Regions from separate parts of the Homo sapiens genome. Here region 1 is linked to region 2. Evidence: promoter capture Hi-C in 16 types of primary human blood cells and fetal thymus (Javierre and others, 2016). All regions are on one chromosome and are shown on one strand. Each heading gives the region's core, a stretch centred on a gene start or on the middle of the fragment in contact. The rest is flanking DNA. Distances are from core to core; before and after follow the strand shown.

Region 1 (6,330 bases), core at 1,258-3,757, 180 kb after region 2:
CGGTAGTTGTAATAAGTATCCATGTATACTTGAGAAGAATGTATTCTTCTTTGTTATGTGCAGAAAAACCTGAATAGTCCTGTATCTGTTCAACAGATTGAATACTATATCTATGAAAGGAATATATACTAATGATCTTCAAATTTTCTATGTATCTATCTATTGATTTGCTTTTTGTTCTATCAGTTACTAAAAGAAGTAGATTTAAATCTCAGGGTATGATTGAGAATGTGTTTCCTTTTGGTTCCATCAGTTTTCTTCTTTATTTTCTTCTTTATTTTAGGTACCTTCAAATTTAGGATTTTTTTTTATATTGAATTTGCTTCTTTATCTTTACAGTCTATCTCATCTTAAATCTAAACTTATTGTGGGTTTTTGTTTTTTATTTTATTTTTTGAGACAGTCTCCCTCTGTCACCCAGGCCGGAGTTCAGTGGCACAATCTTGGCTCACTGCAACGTCCACCTTCTGGGTTCAGGCAATTCTCATGCCTCAGCCTCCTTAGTAGCTGGGACTACATGTGTGCACCACCACACCCTGCTAAATTTTGTATTTTTAGTAGAGATGGGGTTTTGCCATGTTGGCCAGGCTAGTCTCGAACTCCTGGCCTCAAATGATCAGCTTGCCTCAGTCACCCAACATTCTGGCATGAGCCACCACGCCTGGCCTAAACTTCTTGTTTTAAAGTCTTTGTCTGATATTGGTATAGTTTCTCAAGGTTTTTTAAATTCTATATCTTTCTCATCCTTTTACTTTTAGCCTTACATTATTTTGACCATGTCTCTTGTAAGCTTCATTTTTAAAAAATTCAGTCTGACAGACTTTGCCTTTTATTTGGAATATTTGGTTCACTTTATATTTAATATGATTAATAGTCTATTAAACTTTCTTTTTCTTTTTCTTTTTTTTTTTTTTTTTGGTGTAGACAGTGTCTCCTCTGTCACCCAGGCTGGAATGCAGTGGCATGATCTCAGCTTACTCCAGCGTCAACCTCCTGGGCTCAGGTTATCCTCCCACCTCAGCCTCCCGTATTAAAGATTCTTTTATTATTATTTTAGTGGGTTGCCCTTGTTATTACAAGAATATATCCTTATTGATTTTTAAATTAAATCTTAAAAATTAAATTTTTTAGATGGGGCACAGTGGCTCATGCCTTTAGTCCCAGCACTTTGGGAGGCTGAGGCAGGTAGATTGTTTGAGTCGAGTTCAAGACCAGCCTCGGCAAAATGGCGAAACCCTGTCTTTACAAAAAAAAATTTAAAAATTAGCCTGGAGTGGTGGTACACACCTGTAGTCCCAGCTACCTGGGGGGCTGAGGTGGGGATCACTTGAGCCCAGGAGTTCAAGGCTGCAGTTAGCCGTGATCACACCACTGCACTCCATACCTGGGCAACAGTGAGACCCTGTCTCTAAATAAATAAATAAAATTAAAATTTTTAAATTAAAATTTTCTACACAATATAAAGGCATTATTGATACTTTTGCTATATTTAACCTTCTCTAGCCTTTGGTGCTACTATTTCATGTATTTTAATGTTTCATATGTTATAAAGCCCACAAAACATTATTTTTAAAGTCAATAATCCTTTTGATTTGCCTATATATTTGCCCTTTCAGTTATCTTCATTTTTTTCTGTATGACCAGATGTGTGCTTCTATCTGGGCACATTTCTGTTAGCTTGAAGAATTCTCTTCAATATTTCTTTTAAAACAGGTAGGATACTAACCAGATTCTCTCAACTCTTTTTTTCTTTTGTCTAAAAACATCTTTATCTTACCATTTTTTTTAAAAAAAGAGATGGGGCCCTGCTGTGTTTCCCTGGCTGGAGTGCAGTGGCTATTCACAGCTTCAAAATTCTGGCCTCAAACAATCCTCCCACCCCAGCCTCCTGAGTAGCTGGGACTAGAGGGGCACACTGCTGAGCCCAGCTTGCCTTCATTTTTGAAGGATATTTTTCTGGGTAGAAAGCTCAAGGTTGACAGTTATTCCCATCTATCATTTGAATGCAATTCTATTCTGTTTTTTTTTTTTTTTTTTTGAGACAGAGTAAGACTGTCACCCAGCCTGGAGTGCAGTGGCACAATTTCATCTCAGTGCAACCTCCACCTTCCAGGTTCAAGTGATTCTCCTGCCTCAGCCTCCTTAGTAGCTAGGATCACAGGCACCCACCACCGCCCTTGGCTAAATTTTGTGTTTTTAGTAGAGATGGGGTTTCACCATGTTGGGGAATGGTACCAAACATGTAGGCTTTTATCGCTCACCTCCCTCCTACCATTCCCCCCAAGTCCCCAAAGTTCATTATATCATTCTTAGGCCTTTGCCTCCTCATAGTTTCTTAGCTCCCACTTATAAGTAAGACCATATGGTATTTGGTTTTCCATTCCTGAGTTACTTCACTTAGAATAATGGCCTCCAAGTTCATCCAAGTTGCTGCAAAAGCCTTTGTTTCGTTCCATTTTATGGCTGAGTAGTATTCCATGGTGTATGTATACCACATTTTCTTCATCCAGTTGTTGGTTGATGGGCATTTAGGTTGGCTCCATATTTTTGCAGTTGGTAGTGCTGCTATAAACATGTACGTGCAAGTATCTTTTTCATGTAATGACTTATTTTCCTTTGGGTAGGTATCCAGTGGTGGAATTGCTGGATCAAATGGTAGTTCTAATTTTAGTTCTTTTTTTTTTTTGGAGACAGAGTCTCGCTGTGTTGCCCAGGCTGGAGTGCAGTAGTGCGATCTCGGCTCACTGTAACTTCTGCCTCGCAGGTTCCAGTGATTCTCCTGCCTCAGCCTCCCGAGTAGCTGGGACTACAGGCGCACATCACTGCACCCAACTAATTTTTGTATTTTTGTTAGAGATGGGGTTTCACCATGTTGGTCAGGCTGGTTTCAAACTCCTGACCTTGGGATCTGCCTGCCTCGGCCTCCCAAAGTGCTGGGATTACAGGCATGAGCCACCACCCCCAGTCCTTTTTAGTTCTTTAAGGAATCTCCATACTGTTTTCCTTAGTGGTTGTACTAGTTTACATTCCCACCAGCAGTGTAAAAGAGTTCCCTTTTCACCATATTCACGCCAACATCTATTTTTCTTTTTTTATTTTTTAATTATGGCCATTCTTGCAGGAGTAAGGTGGTACCTTATTGTGGTTTTAATTTGCCTATGTATGATAATCAGTGATGAGCATTTTTTCTTATGTGTATTGGCCGCTTGTATATCTTCTTTTTTTTTTTAATTATACTTTAAGTTCTAGGGTACATGTGCACAACGTGCAGGTTTGTTACATACGTATACGTGTGCCATGTTAGTATGCTACACCCATTAACTTGTCATTTACATTAGGTATATCTCCTAATGCTATCCCTTCCCCCTCCCGCTGCCCCACAGCAGGCCCCGGTATGTGATGTTCCCCTTCCTGTGTCCAAGTGTTCTCACTGTTCAGTTCGCACCTATGAGTGAGAACATGCGGTGTTTGGTATTTTGTCCTTGTGATAGTTTACTGAGAATGATGGTCTCCACCTCCATCCATGTCCCTATAAAGGACACGAACTCATCATTTTTTATGGCTGCATAGTATTCCATGGTGTATATGTACCACATTTTCTTAATCCAGTCTATCATTGATGGACATTTGGGTTGGTTCCAAGTCTGCTGGGCGAAGGATATGAACAGACACTTCTCAAAAGAAGACATTTATGCAGCCAACAGACACATGAAAAAGTGCTCATCATCACTGGCCATCAGCAAAATGCAAATCAAAACCACAATGAGATACCGTCTCACACCAGTTAGAATGGTGATCATTAAAAAGTCAGAAAACAACAGATGCTGGAGAGGATGTGGAGAAATAGGAACACTTTTACACTGTTGGTGGGGCTGTAAACTAGTTCAACCATTGTGGAAGATAGTGTGGCGATTCCTCAAGGATCTAGAACTAGAAATACCATTTGACCCAGCCGTCCCATTACTGAGTATATACCCAAAGGATTATAAATCATGCTGCTATAAAGACACATGCACACGTATGTATAGCTTCCTTTGAGAATTGTCTCTTCATGTCCTTTGCCCACTTTGTGCTGGGATTATTTGTTTTTTTTTTCTTGCTGATTTGAGTTGTAGATTCTGGATATTAGTCCTTTGTTGGATGCATAGTTTGCAAATATTTTCTCCCACTCTGTGGGTTGTCTGTTTGCTCTGCTGATTATTTATTTTGCTATGCAGAAGCTTTTTAGTTTAATTAGGTCTCATTCATTTGTTTTTGTTTTTGTTGCATTTGCTTTTGGGTTCTTAGTCATGAATTCTTTACCTAAGCCAATGTCTTGAAGAGTTTTTTTGATGCTATCTTCTAGAATTTTTATGGTTTCTTAGATTTAAGTCTTTGATCCATCTTGAGTTGATTTTTGTATAAGGTGAGAAAGGAGGATTCCTGGCATCCATGAGGAATAGCATTTATTCCTGGATCTAAGTTTTGACTAATTAATGCTTTTAACATTTTAATTAATGTGTTTAACCTCAAATGGATTTATTGAAACCTTAAAATATATGCAAAAATTATATATGCTAAGATTTTTTTCCCCTATTTTTATGTTACGTCCTCTAGATTTGAATTTACGTTAAGTGAATTCCAAAGTTAGGAATTGAAATCAAATTCCTTTTTTTAGGCTTATGTTTTTATTTCCACAGGTCCTGCTCAATCTGGAATTTTGTCAGATCGTGAAGTGGTAAACCTCTTTCTTCATTTTACTGTCAACCCTAAACCCCGAGTTGAATACATTGACCGACCAAGATGCTGTCTCAGGGGAAAGGAATGCTGCATCAATAGATTCCAGCAAGTAGAAAGCCGCTGGGGTTACAGTGGGACGAGTGATCGAATCAGGTATCTGTTATATTGGGGATGCGGGGGTAGAGTGGGGGTAGCAGTTACCATTTGGCCTTTTTTATATATTATGGGAGATAATTAACCAACATTTCATTTTATACTTCATTTAATACACTTTTAAGTTAAGTTAATATAGGAGTCAAGAAGTCACTGAGGCATCCTGCCCTCCTCACTGATTTATGAGTGAGGGTGACTTCTTAAGAAAAAAATAGAGTAAGAAAGGATTGGGTTGGACCTTCTGTTACGTGATTTTTTTGTTTTTCCCCAAGATGGAGTCGCTCTGTCACTCAGGCTGGAGTGCAGTGGTGGGATCTCTCACACTGCAACCTCCGCCTTCTGGGTTCAAGCGATCCTCCCACCTCAGCCTCCTGAGTAACCTGTAAGGCATGCATCACCACGCCCAGCTAATCTTTTTGGATTTTTAGTAGAGACGGGGTTTCACCATGTTGTCCAGGCTGGTCTCGAACTACTGACCTCAAGTGATCCACCTGCTTCAGCCTTCCAAAGTGCTGGGGTTACAGGGGTGAGCCACCACGCCCAGCTGTTACATGATTTTTGTTTGGATCACCACTGCCAGTGGGCTGAGTTCTAGACCTTAATTGATCAAACGTTATTTTTACAGGCTTAGGGCTACAATTAATAAATGTAACCTTACTATGTTTAGTGTGAGTTTTTTCTTTGCATAGATGTTGCAGGGAAAGTATCTCAGTATACATTTATAAAAGCCTTGAGAAAAAAATCAAGAATCTTGAAAAATGCATGCGTATAATCCTGTTGAAGAAATTGTCTTTGCTGTACTGTGTTTCTTTAGGTTGAATGTCAAAATAGAATCAGTGCCGGTTTTCACAAAACATGACTTTTGGATTTTCATTTATTTAATAGCACTTCAGTATAAAACTGGAAATTAACAAGTTTGTTAAAACAGAAAAATCTGGTTGGATGTGGGACTATTATAAATCTTAAGTTAACATGGAAATTAAAAATGTACTTGTAGACTATTTAATAATAATTCACAATAACTATATGCAAAAATTATGGGATGAGGCCAAAGCTGCACACAAAGAAAAAGTAATAATTAACTACTTGTAGTAAATAGAGTAGAAATAAATGATTTAAGCATTCAGCCCAAGTAGCTAGAAAACAAATAGCAAAAGAACTATAAGAAAAGAGAAAGTAAATAGATAAATGTAGAAATTAATGAATTAGAAATAGTAGAATTCATAAATCCATAAGCTGGTTCCTTTAAAAGACCAATAAAATAAATAAACCTCTGGCAAAGGTAATAAACATTCACATTTAGAAGCAAAAATGGGAATATAATTATATGCTGACATTTTTATTTTAATTCTGGGTTTATTCTGTGCTAATAAATTGAACATGTTGATGGAATGGATCATTTTATAGGCAAATATAAATTATCAAAATTGACTGAAGAAGAAAAGCCTGAATAGACCA
Region 2 (7,003 bases), core at 1-2,500:
ACAAGAGCAGGAGTTAAAACACACACACACCATTCTACAAGGCCAGAGAGGGGGGCGGATGGTGGGGAAAACTGTAGCTTCTGTAAAAGGGAGAGAGAACAGACACAAATGAGAACTGTCCGTGTGACAAGGTGAGGGCCACAGAAAGCAGCATTTAGGAGCTATGCCAGCTGACCCCTTAAAGGAGGTGGGTTACAGCATGATTAAAGAAGCAGCATTCGTTCATTGGACAGACTCCAAACGATTCCTTGAATTATTCTACTTACTCCTCACAAAAGAGAGTGTTAGGAAGATTCCTACTCTCAAAATGTCTTTGAAAGCAGCCAGCTAGGGAATTTAGAGTAAAATAGTGGTAAATGAACATGTTCTAGAGCTAATGAACTGTATATGTACATACATCTCCAGAAAGGGATGCTAATTTCAAAAACGTTGTCCAAAAGGTTGCCAGGATTGGAAACAAGTGACCGGCCAGTGCAAGTCCTTTTCACAAACACTGCAGGCCTAGAAAACGCACACAGAGAGAAACATAATCGCTTATGGACTTTGGACTCATGTGGATACAGGTTCGAATCCCGTCTGTGCCACTCAGCAAATGAGAAAACCTCCCATGACTCCGATTAAATAGCTCGCCCTAGGTGGGTCACACTGCATTGTTAAGGGCAGACCTGGGGCAAGAATCCAATAAGGTCGCTGACTCCGGAGCGGTGCTCTTTCCGGCAGCTTGGTGCCCAGCAGAGGGTCCCCTCGCGCCGCCGTCCCCCAGGCCTGGAGCGCCTTTGTCCCCCACTCACCAGAGAGCAGCCGCGGAAGTGGCTGGCTGGGGGTAGCCAGGAGAGGGTCGAGTCAGCGGGAGGTGGGCGTGGGAGCGGGGGGCGCGAGTGGGGAGAACCCCCAGAGTGGCACGGACGGGAGGGGAAGGGGGCGGCCGGGTGGTGATTGGCTGGGCTGCGGCAGGCAGCTCCGGGCCAAGAACAAAAGAGAGCAGGCGGCGGGCGTCCTCCGGAGTAGGCACTCCCGCCCGCCCGGCGCGGGCTTCGGTGCTGGGGGAGGACGCGCCCACCGCCCGCCCGCCAGCCGAGAAGCCGGGCTGGCGCGCTCGGTTTCTCCGCGAAAGCCGGCCGTGTACCTAGGAATTAACCGGCCCGCGCGGGAGGGAAGGGGAGGGGAGCGGGAAGCGGGAAGCGGGGCGGGGGGGGGATGCTGAGCGCGCGCGAGAACAATAATAAGATCGTGTTTGCGGTCGCTGCCCGAGAAGGAATTCGGAGCAGACGCGAGGCCCGGCGCTCGCGCCGCGCCCGGGAGCCCGGGAGGGAGACCGGCAGCGGCGGCATGAGGCAGGCGACGCGGCGCTGGTGAGCAGCGCGCGCGGCGGCGGCGGCGGCGGCGGCGGGGACCTTGGCGCGGCCGGACGCGGGCGAGCGCCGAACGGCCGGGGGCTCCCCTCCCCCGCTGCCGGGCCGTGATTTGCCGGGCCTGCTGCGCCCCCCGCCCACCCCTTGCCTCAGCCGCCGCCTCGCCGCTTCCCCTCGTCGGAGCGGCCGCTCGTCCGCCCGGCTTGAGGCCCGCGGGGAGCGCGGCGCAATTCGTCGGCCCGCGGGGGGGCGGCCTCCCGGCATCTTCGCGGCGACCAAGGACTACCAGGAAGGGGAGCGGCTGGGATGGCGCGTCCGCGGCCCCGCGAGTACAAAGCGGGCGACCTGGTCTTCGCCAAGATGAAGGGCTACCCGCACTGGCCGGCCCGGGTGAGTACCGCGGCCGCGCGCGGGCCCGCCCGCCCACCATTTTCCCCTTCATGATGGCGCGCCCGCCCCCTTTCCCCATCGCCTCAGCCCCGAGCCCGCAGCTCGCGGCCGGCTGTGGTGAGGGCTGAGGGCGGCGCGGCACGAAGAAGACCGGGCCGGGGCTGAGGCAAGGGCTCCCGGCCTCGCCCGCACTCCGCCAGGGCGGCCATCCTTCCGCCCACTTTCGAAGGCGGGTCCGGCCCCCGCAGGCCCGACGCTGCCTTCCTCCTGGAAAGCCGGTGCCGACCGGGAAGCCACGCCGCCGGGCAGCGGGCCTGCGACGGAGGCTTCGGCTCCGGGCAGGGTCATTGGTGGATACCCTGGGTCCCGGGCGAACGTCGGGGCAGGTACGGCAGCGGGGTGAGCGGCTGTCCGCGAGCCGGCGAGTGCCGGCGGGCAGTAAATCCTGGAAAGTGGTAGTGGTCATCCAGAGGCCAGCGGGAGCCTCTTGGCAGTCATTCATCCATCTCTTTGCCTTCTAGACTTGTTGAGTTTTCCCTGAGCGCGATTCCCGGTGCCCCGCCTGCCCTATCATTGTCCTGGGGTACGTGCCTCTCTGGTGCCCATCGTTCTTTTAAACCGACCTCTGATAGCCGAGAGCTTGCAGCCTACCTCTGACTGGTGGGTCCAGCAAGCTTCTTGTGCCTTTCCACCTCCATATTTGTTTTAGGTAGAATCTCAAACCTTATTCTTGGCCTCCTGCTACAGTCCACAATAGCTCTCTCTTCCTACATAACAAGGTTGTCGTTGGGCTCTTTTTCTAGAAAGCGTCTGCATGTAATACATAGCATTCACAATTTTTATTAAGCTCTTTGAGGAAGACACACAACACTGCCATGTGTGCTTTGTGTTTTAGAAGAAATCCTTTTTATTTTTATTTTTGTATGGTTGGCAGTTGATTGCTTGAAATAAGAAATCTTGTGAAAAGGAGGGTCAAGGCATTCTAGAGATTATATTGGTATTCTTTAGGAACGGAAACAGTCATGGAGAAAATTGGCATAAATATAGTGTGAGCTCTAAAATGTTGTATTGTAGTCAAGTGAAGATAGCAAGATCAAGAAAAAAAAATACACCCATTCACAAAAGGAAGTGACATCACGAGTGGCCAGACTGAAATTTAGTGAAGTTGAAGTAATGGATGGACATAATCACTTTTTAAATATTTGGTTTGGCATGATTGTCAAATGGAAAGAACACTAGGCCAGGAATTGGGGGACCTGGTGTCTGGTTCAGGCTCTGTTATGGACTAATCATTTCAACTGTCTGCATATCCATTGCTGCAACTATAAAATCATCTCTAGGATCCTTTCCAACACTAACAACCTCAGATATCAAGAGGAAAAAACAGTCTTATTCAGGTTCCAGTAGACTGAAAATAGCTTCGCATCTGAACTGTAGATTGTCCTTAAGATAAGGCAAAGTTTTTAAGGTAGAATAACTGGTTATTTTTTATGCTGTAATACAGTATTGCTTAGAGAGGCAAGATTTGTGACTTTAGGAGTCCCTGAATATATTTGTGACTTCAGAAAATCCCCGAATCTGTTTGCCAAGTAAGAAATGTATAGCTTTAGGGCCATATGTGTATAAACACAGTCAAAGCCAATTAAAGGTTACCGTTACTAGTTGGTCATTTCCTAGTACCATAATGGCTTTTTAAAATCTTCCCTTTGAAAAATATCTTCTGATAGTCAAAAAGAAAATAGACTTAAAATTTCATTAATATGTTGCCTGTACAGGTTGGCCACCTGTAGTAATTTGTGAAACAGAAAAATCCTACGGAAGTGGTCCTAGTTGTATATCTAATTGTACATAAAATTCCTGGAAGTGATAATTCCAAATAAGGCAAAATGGAAAATAAAATGAGGAAACAAAATTAAGTTTTTAGATAAAATAGGTACAAGAAAGAAAAATCTGTATCTATTCACATTTAACGAGCTCCTCAAGAAACAACCTAAGACTCAAAAAAAGAAGTTTTATTTTCTCGTTAGTGGCATGCTGCAATTTCCAAAGGTAAAGGTTAGAAAAAGATTTGAGTCCCCTTTTTTACAGTGCGTATACTTCACATATGTTTTCATTTTTTTCATCCCAATTCTATGAGGCATTATTCCCATCTTACACCTAGGTATAGCTGTGTAGATGATAATGTTATAAAATGCTAACTGGGAAAAAAAGTCTTGCTTATTGAAGTTTCAAATATTATCACTTGATACGAAGGCCATTCATGTGGGCATTAGATACTGTGGGGCGCCAAGGACTCAAACTTAGGAGGGAAACCAGGAAGAAACAGATTTCAGAGTACATGTTGTAGGAAGGCACTTTGTATTAGAGCTGGTTCATACAGGAATGGAGAAGCAACTTCCTTGCTCTAGGGAAGATGTTTGGTCCTAGGCAGCCCTTTGTGAGGAATGTAGGTCAAGAGGATTCAGAATTCCTACAGGTTGGATTCAGCTCTTGGCTGGGCTTCACACTGTGACCTTGTGCATGTTCTGTAATCTTTCTAAGTTTCTGTTTACTCGTCTGTAAAATAAAGATAATTCTCACCTCACAAATACAGAGTATCTAAAAGCACCAAGTGATGGTACTTGTATGTTCCTACCTTTTTCCTTTTTGAATTTCTAACTTTCCTTTGTATCACTACACTATTTTAAATTATTGTCAACTTTCAACTCAGATTTATTTTTCCAATATTTTATCCTGAAAAATTTCGAATATATAGATAAGTTTAAAAAATTGAACTGTGAAGACCCATTTATCTACACCTAGATTCTACAATTAAATTTCATTCTACTTGCTCTTTCATGCATCTGTTCATATATCCTCCCTCTATCTACATAATAGTTCCTCTTATTTTAATGCATTTCAAGGTAAGTTGCACACATCGCCATAATTTACTCCTAGACACATGCATGCCATTAACCTAGTGGTTAATACTTTGAATGGATCCTTTTCTCTTTTGAGGTAAAATTTACATGGAATGGAATGTACTTACCTTAACTGTACCATTCGGTGAGTTTGACAAATGTATACATTGGTATAATATAAATATAGCTCTCTATATGATATATGTCTGATATATATAAGTATATGTGATACATATATATAATATAAATACATAAATACATTGACATAATACCTACCAAGGTATAGAACAGTGCCTACGAAAGTACTCTCATGCCTCTTTCTGGTAGATTCCTGTCCTCCTCCTTCCTTCTCCCCCATTGTTCAGATGTATTATTCTAACATTAAATAGCAGCTGGCTGTTTCTCATCTAGTATGCCTAATTTTGTGTGGCTTTAAAAATTAGAAGTTCATCTATGTTATGGATTAGCTAGCTTAATGTTAAAAAGTACTGAGGCTAAAACGAGTCTCTGATCGCTTTTGTTTGTGTACCCTGTTGGTAAAATAATTTGAGCATACATCACTAATATATCTAAATTTTCTTTATATATACATGTGCTTTCTGTTACTACTATATACAGCATAAAATAAACACAAAAAGAAACTAAAAGGGATGACATGATGAAAACAATATGTTTTAAAATTTTCATTGCACAATATCGTTAACAGTAATAATACTTATTATTACTTATAGGTTAAGTTCATATTTTTTAAAGTCTTAATTTTTGGAATATTTTCTGCCTGCTTCTTGTGAGATTTGACTAGATGGATGGTCATTGTTCTTAACTTCCGAAGAGATTTTCTAGAATAGAAGTGTCAGCTTAGACATTTACCTTGTTGTTTGCTTGCATCTACATTACTAATATTATTTTTGTGTAGGAATCTTTCTTTTTTTTAGCCACCTGTTCATTTGGTGAGAGCTAGTTCAGTTAGAAGTAGATATTCCATAATCCTGCTCAACCGGGCACACACCAAATGGCAGTAAATCACAGTATACTCAACGTGAATAAACATAACCATCTGAATAAGAATACTATTAATAGTGTCAACTTGCATATAAAATACTAGTAAAATTTACTTTTTAGCTAAAAGAGTAAGAAACTGAAATCAAAATTCTGTTTTCTTCCCATACCCCACCCAAACCTTCCGCTGAGATGTGAGCACTCTGCTTATGTTACCCCCTACTCTAAAAGGTCAGAAAACAATGTAAACGAAAAGCCTCAAAATTATTGTGCTTTAACTAAAGCACTTTTTTACACTTAAAAACTTTATATGAGAATTATCAAATATTGCTAGTAGAGTGTATTGATAGTTACTTAAGAAAACTGACTTAATCTACATATGCTTACCTTGTGACCTAGCAGTCTCTTCTAGGCATATACCCAAGAGAAATGAGTGTTTATATTCACCAAAATACTGTACAAGAATGCTCATACATAACAACTTTCTTCATGATAGAACAGGAAACAACCCAAATGTCCATCAGCAGGAGAATGAGTAAACAAATTTGTAGTATATTCACATAGTGGAGTACTATTTGACAATAAAAAGGAATAAATTACTGATACAGTGGTCACTGGTTTGTAGTGGGTAGAAAGGAGTTATTGAATAGGAGAAGGCACTGGAAATGTTCCCTGTCTTGATCTGGATGGTGTTACATGGATGTGTACATATGTAAAAATGTATCAAGCTGTACATTTAAGATTTGTGCACTATACTGTATGAAAGTTATACCTCAATTTAAAAAACACATTTTATATGAGTTAGGGAGAAAGGAGAACTAATACTTCTACATGGATTAAATTTCACTATTTTTAGCTTTCAGTGAGTTGTTTTTTTTCCTTCGAGTCCTCACTCCTACCAAGCTGCATCTTCCTATTCCCTTTTGACTTATTATAGAAACTTCATTTTCTACTTTAGAGCATTCTCTTTAGACTTTCTTTGAGTTCTGGTTTCAGCCTGTCTGGTTTGTTTACCTGCATCAGTGTCTTTCTCTTCCTTTAATATTAAATCACTGCTTATCATATTTTTGATCTAGCTTTCTTTAACCTCTCACTTTGTAAAGCATAAGAATAAAGCATTTGACCTTCCTATTTATATAGCTTCAAGAGCTGAGCTCTTACTGAACTTTTGTTGAGCACCTACTGTATGTAAGGCACAGGGGTATAGTTTTTTCATATCTCTAGCAATAGATTAAATTTGCAGCAATTCTAAAACATGATTATGAAGTGTTTCCATACCCTTTATTAATATAAATATTTGTTGGGAATCTTCCTTTTCTGATCCATAGCACTTTCAGGTTTTTTGCATTTGACAATGATCTA

The links. The method cuts DNA at HindIII sites, captures the fragments that hold promoters and counts their contacts. A CHiCAGO score of 5 or more calls a contact.
Region 1: a fragment that was not itself captured here is called in contact with the fragment with the promoter of HDGFL3 in region 2 in 1 of 17 cell types (erythroblasts); the score reaches 5.5 in erythroblasts.

The regions. Positions count from the first base shown.
Region 1 is chr15:83,028,678-83,035,007 of GRCh38, reverse strand. BTBD1 (BTB domain containing 1) reads left to right here. Exons shown (of 8, transcript NM_025238.4): 5 at 4,680-4,872. All of the region lies in intron 1 of LOC124903542 (a long non-coding RNA gene), which reads right to left. Among named protein-coding and RNA genes, the nearest start is that of C15orf40, 20 kb to the right of the region's middle. The HindIII fragment of the contact is 3,430 bases long and covers 793-4,222 here.
Region 2 is chr15:83,202,070-83,209,072 of GRCh38, reverse strand. HDGFL3 (HDGF like 3) reads left to right here and starts at 1,250. Exons shown (of 6, transcript NM_016073.4): 1 at 1,250-1,742. The coding sequence starts at 1,659. RefSeq lists an enhancer at 339-952 and silencers at 813-1,152, 1,543-1,992. The HindIII fragment of the contact is 15,661 bases long and covers 1-2,418 here.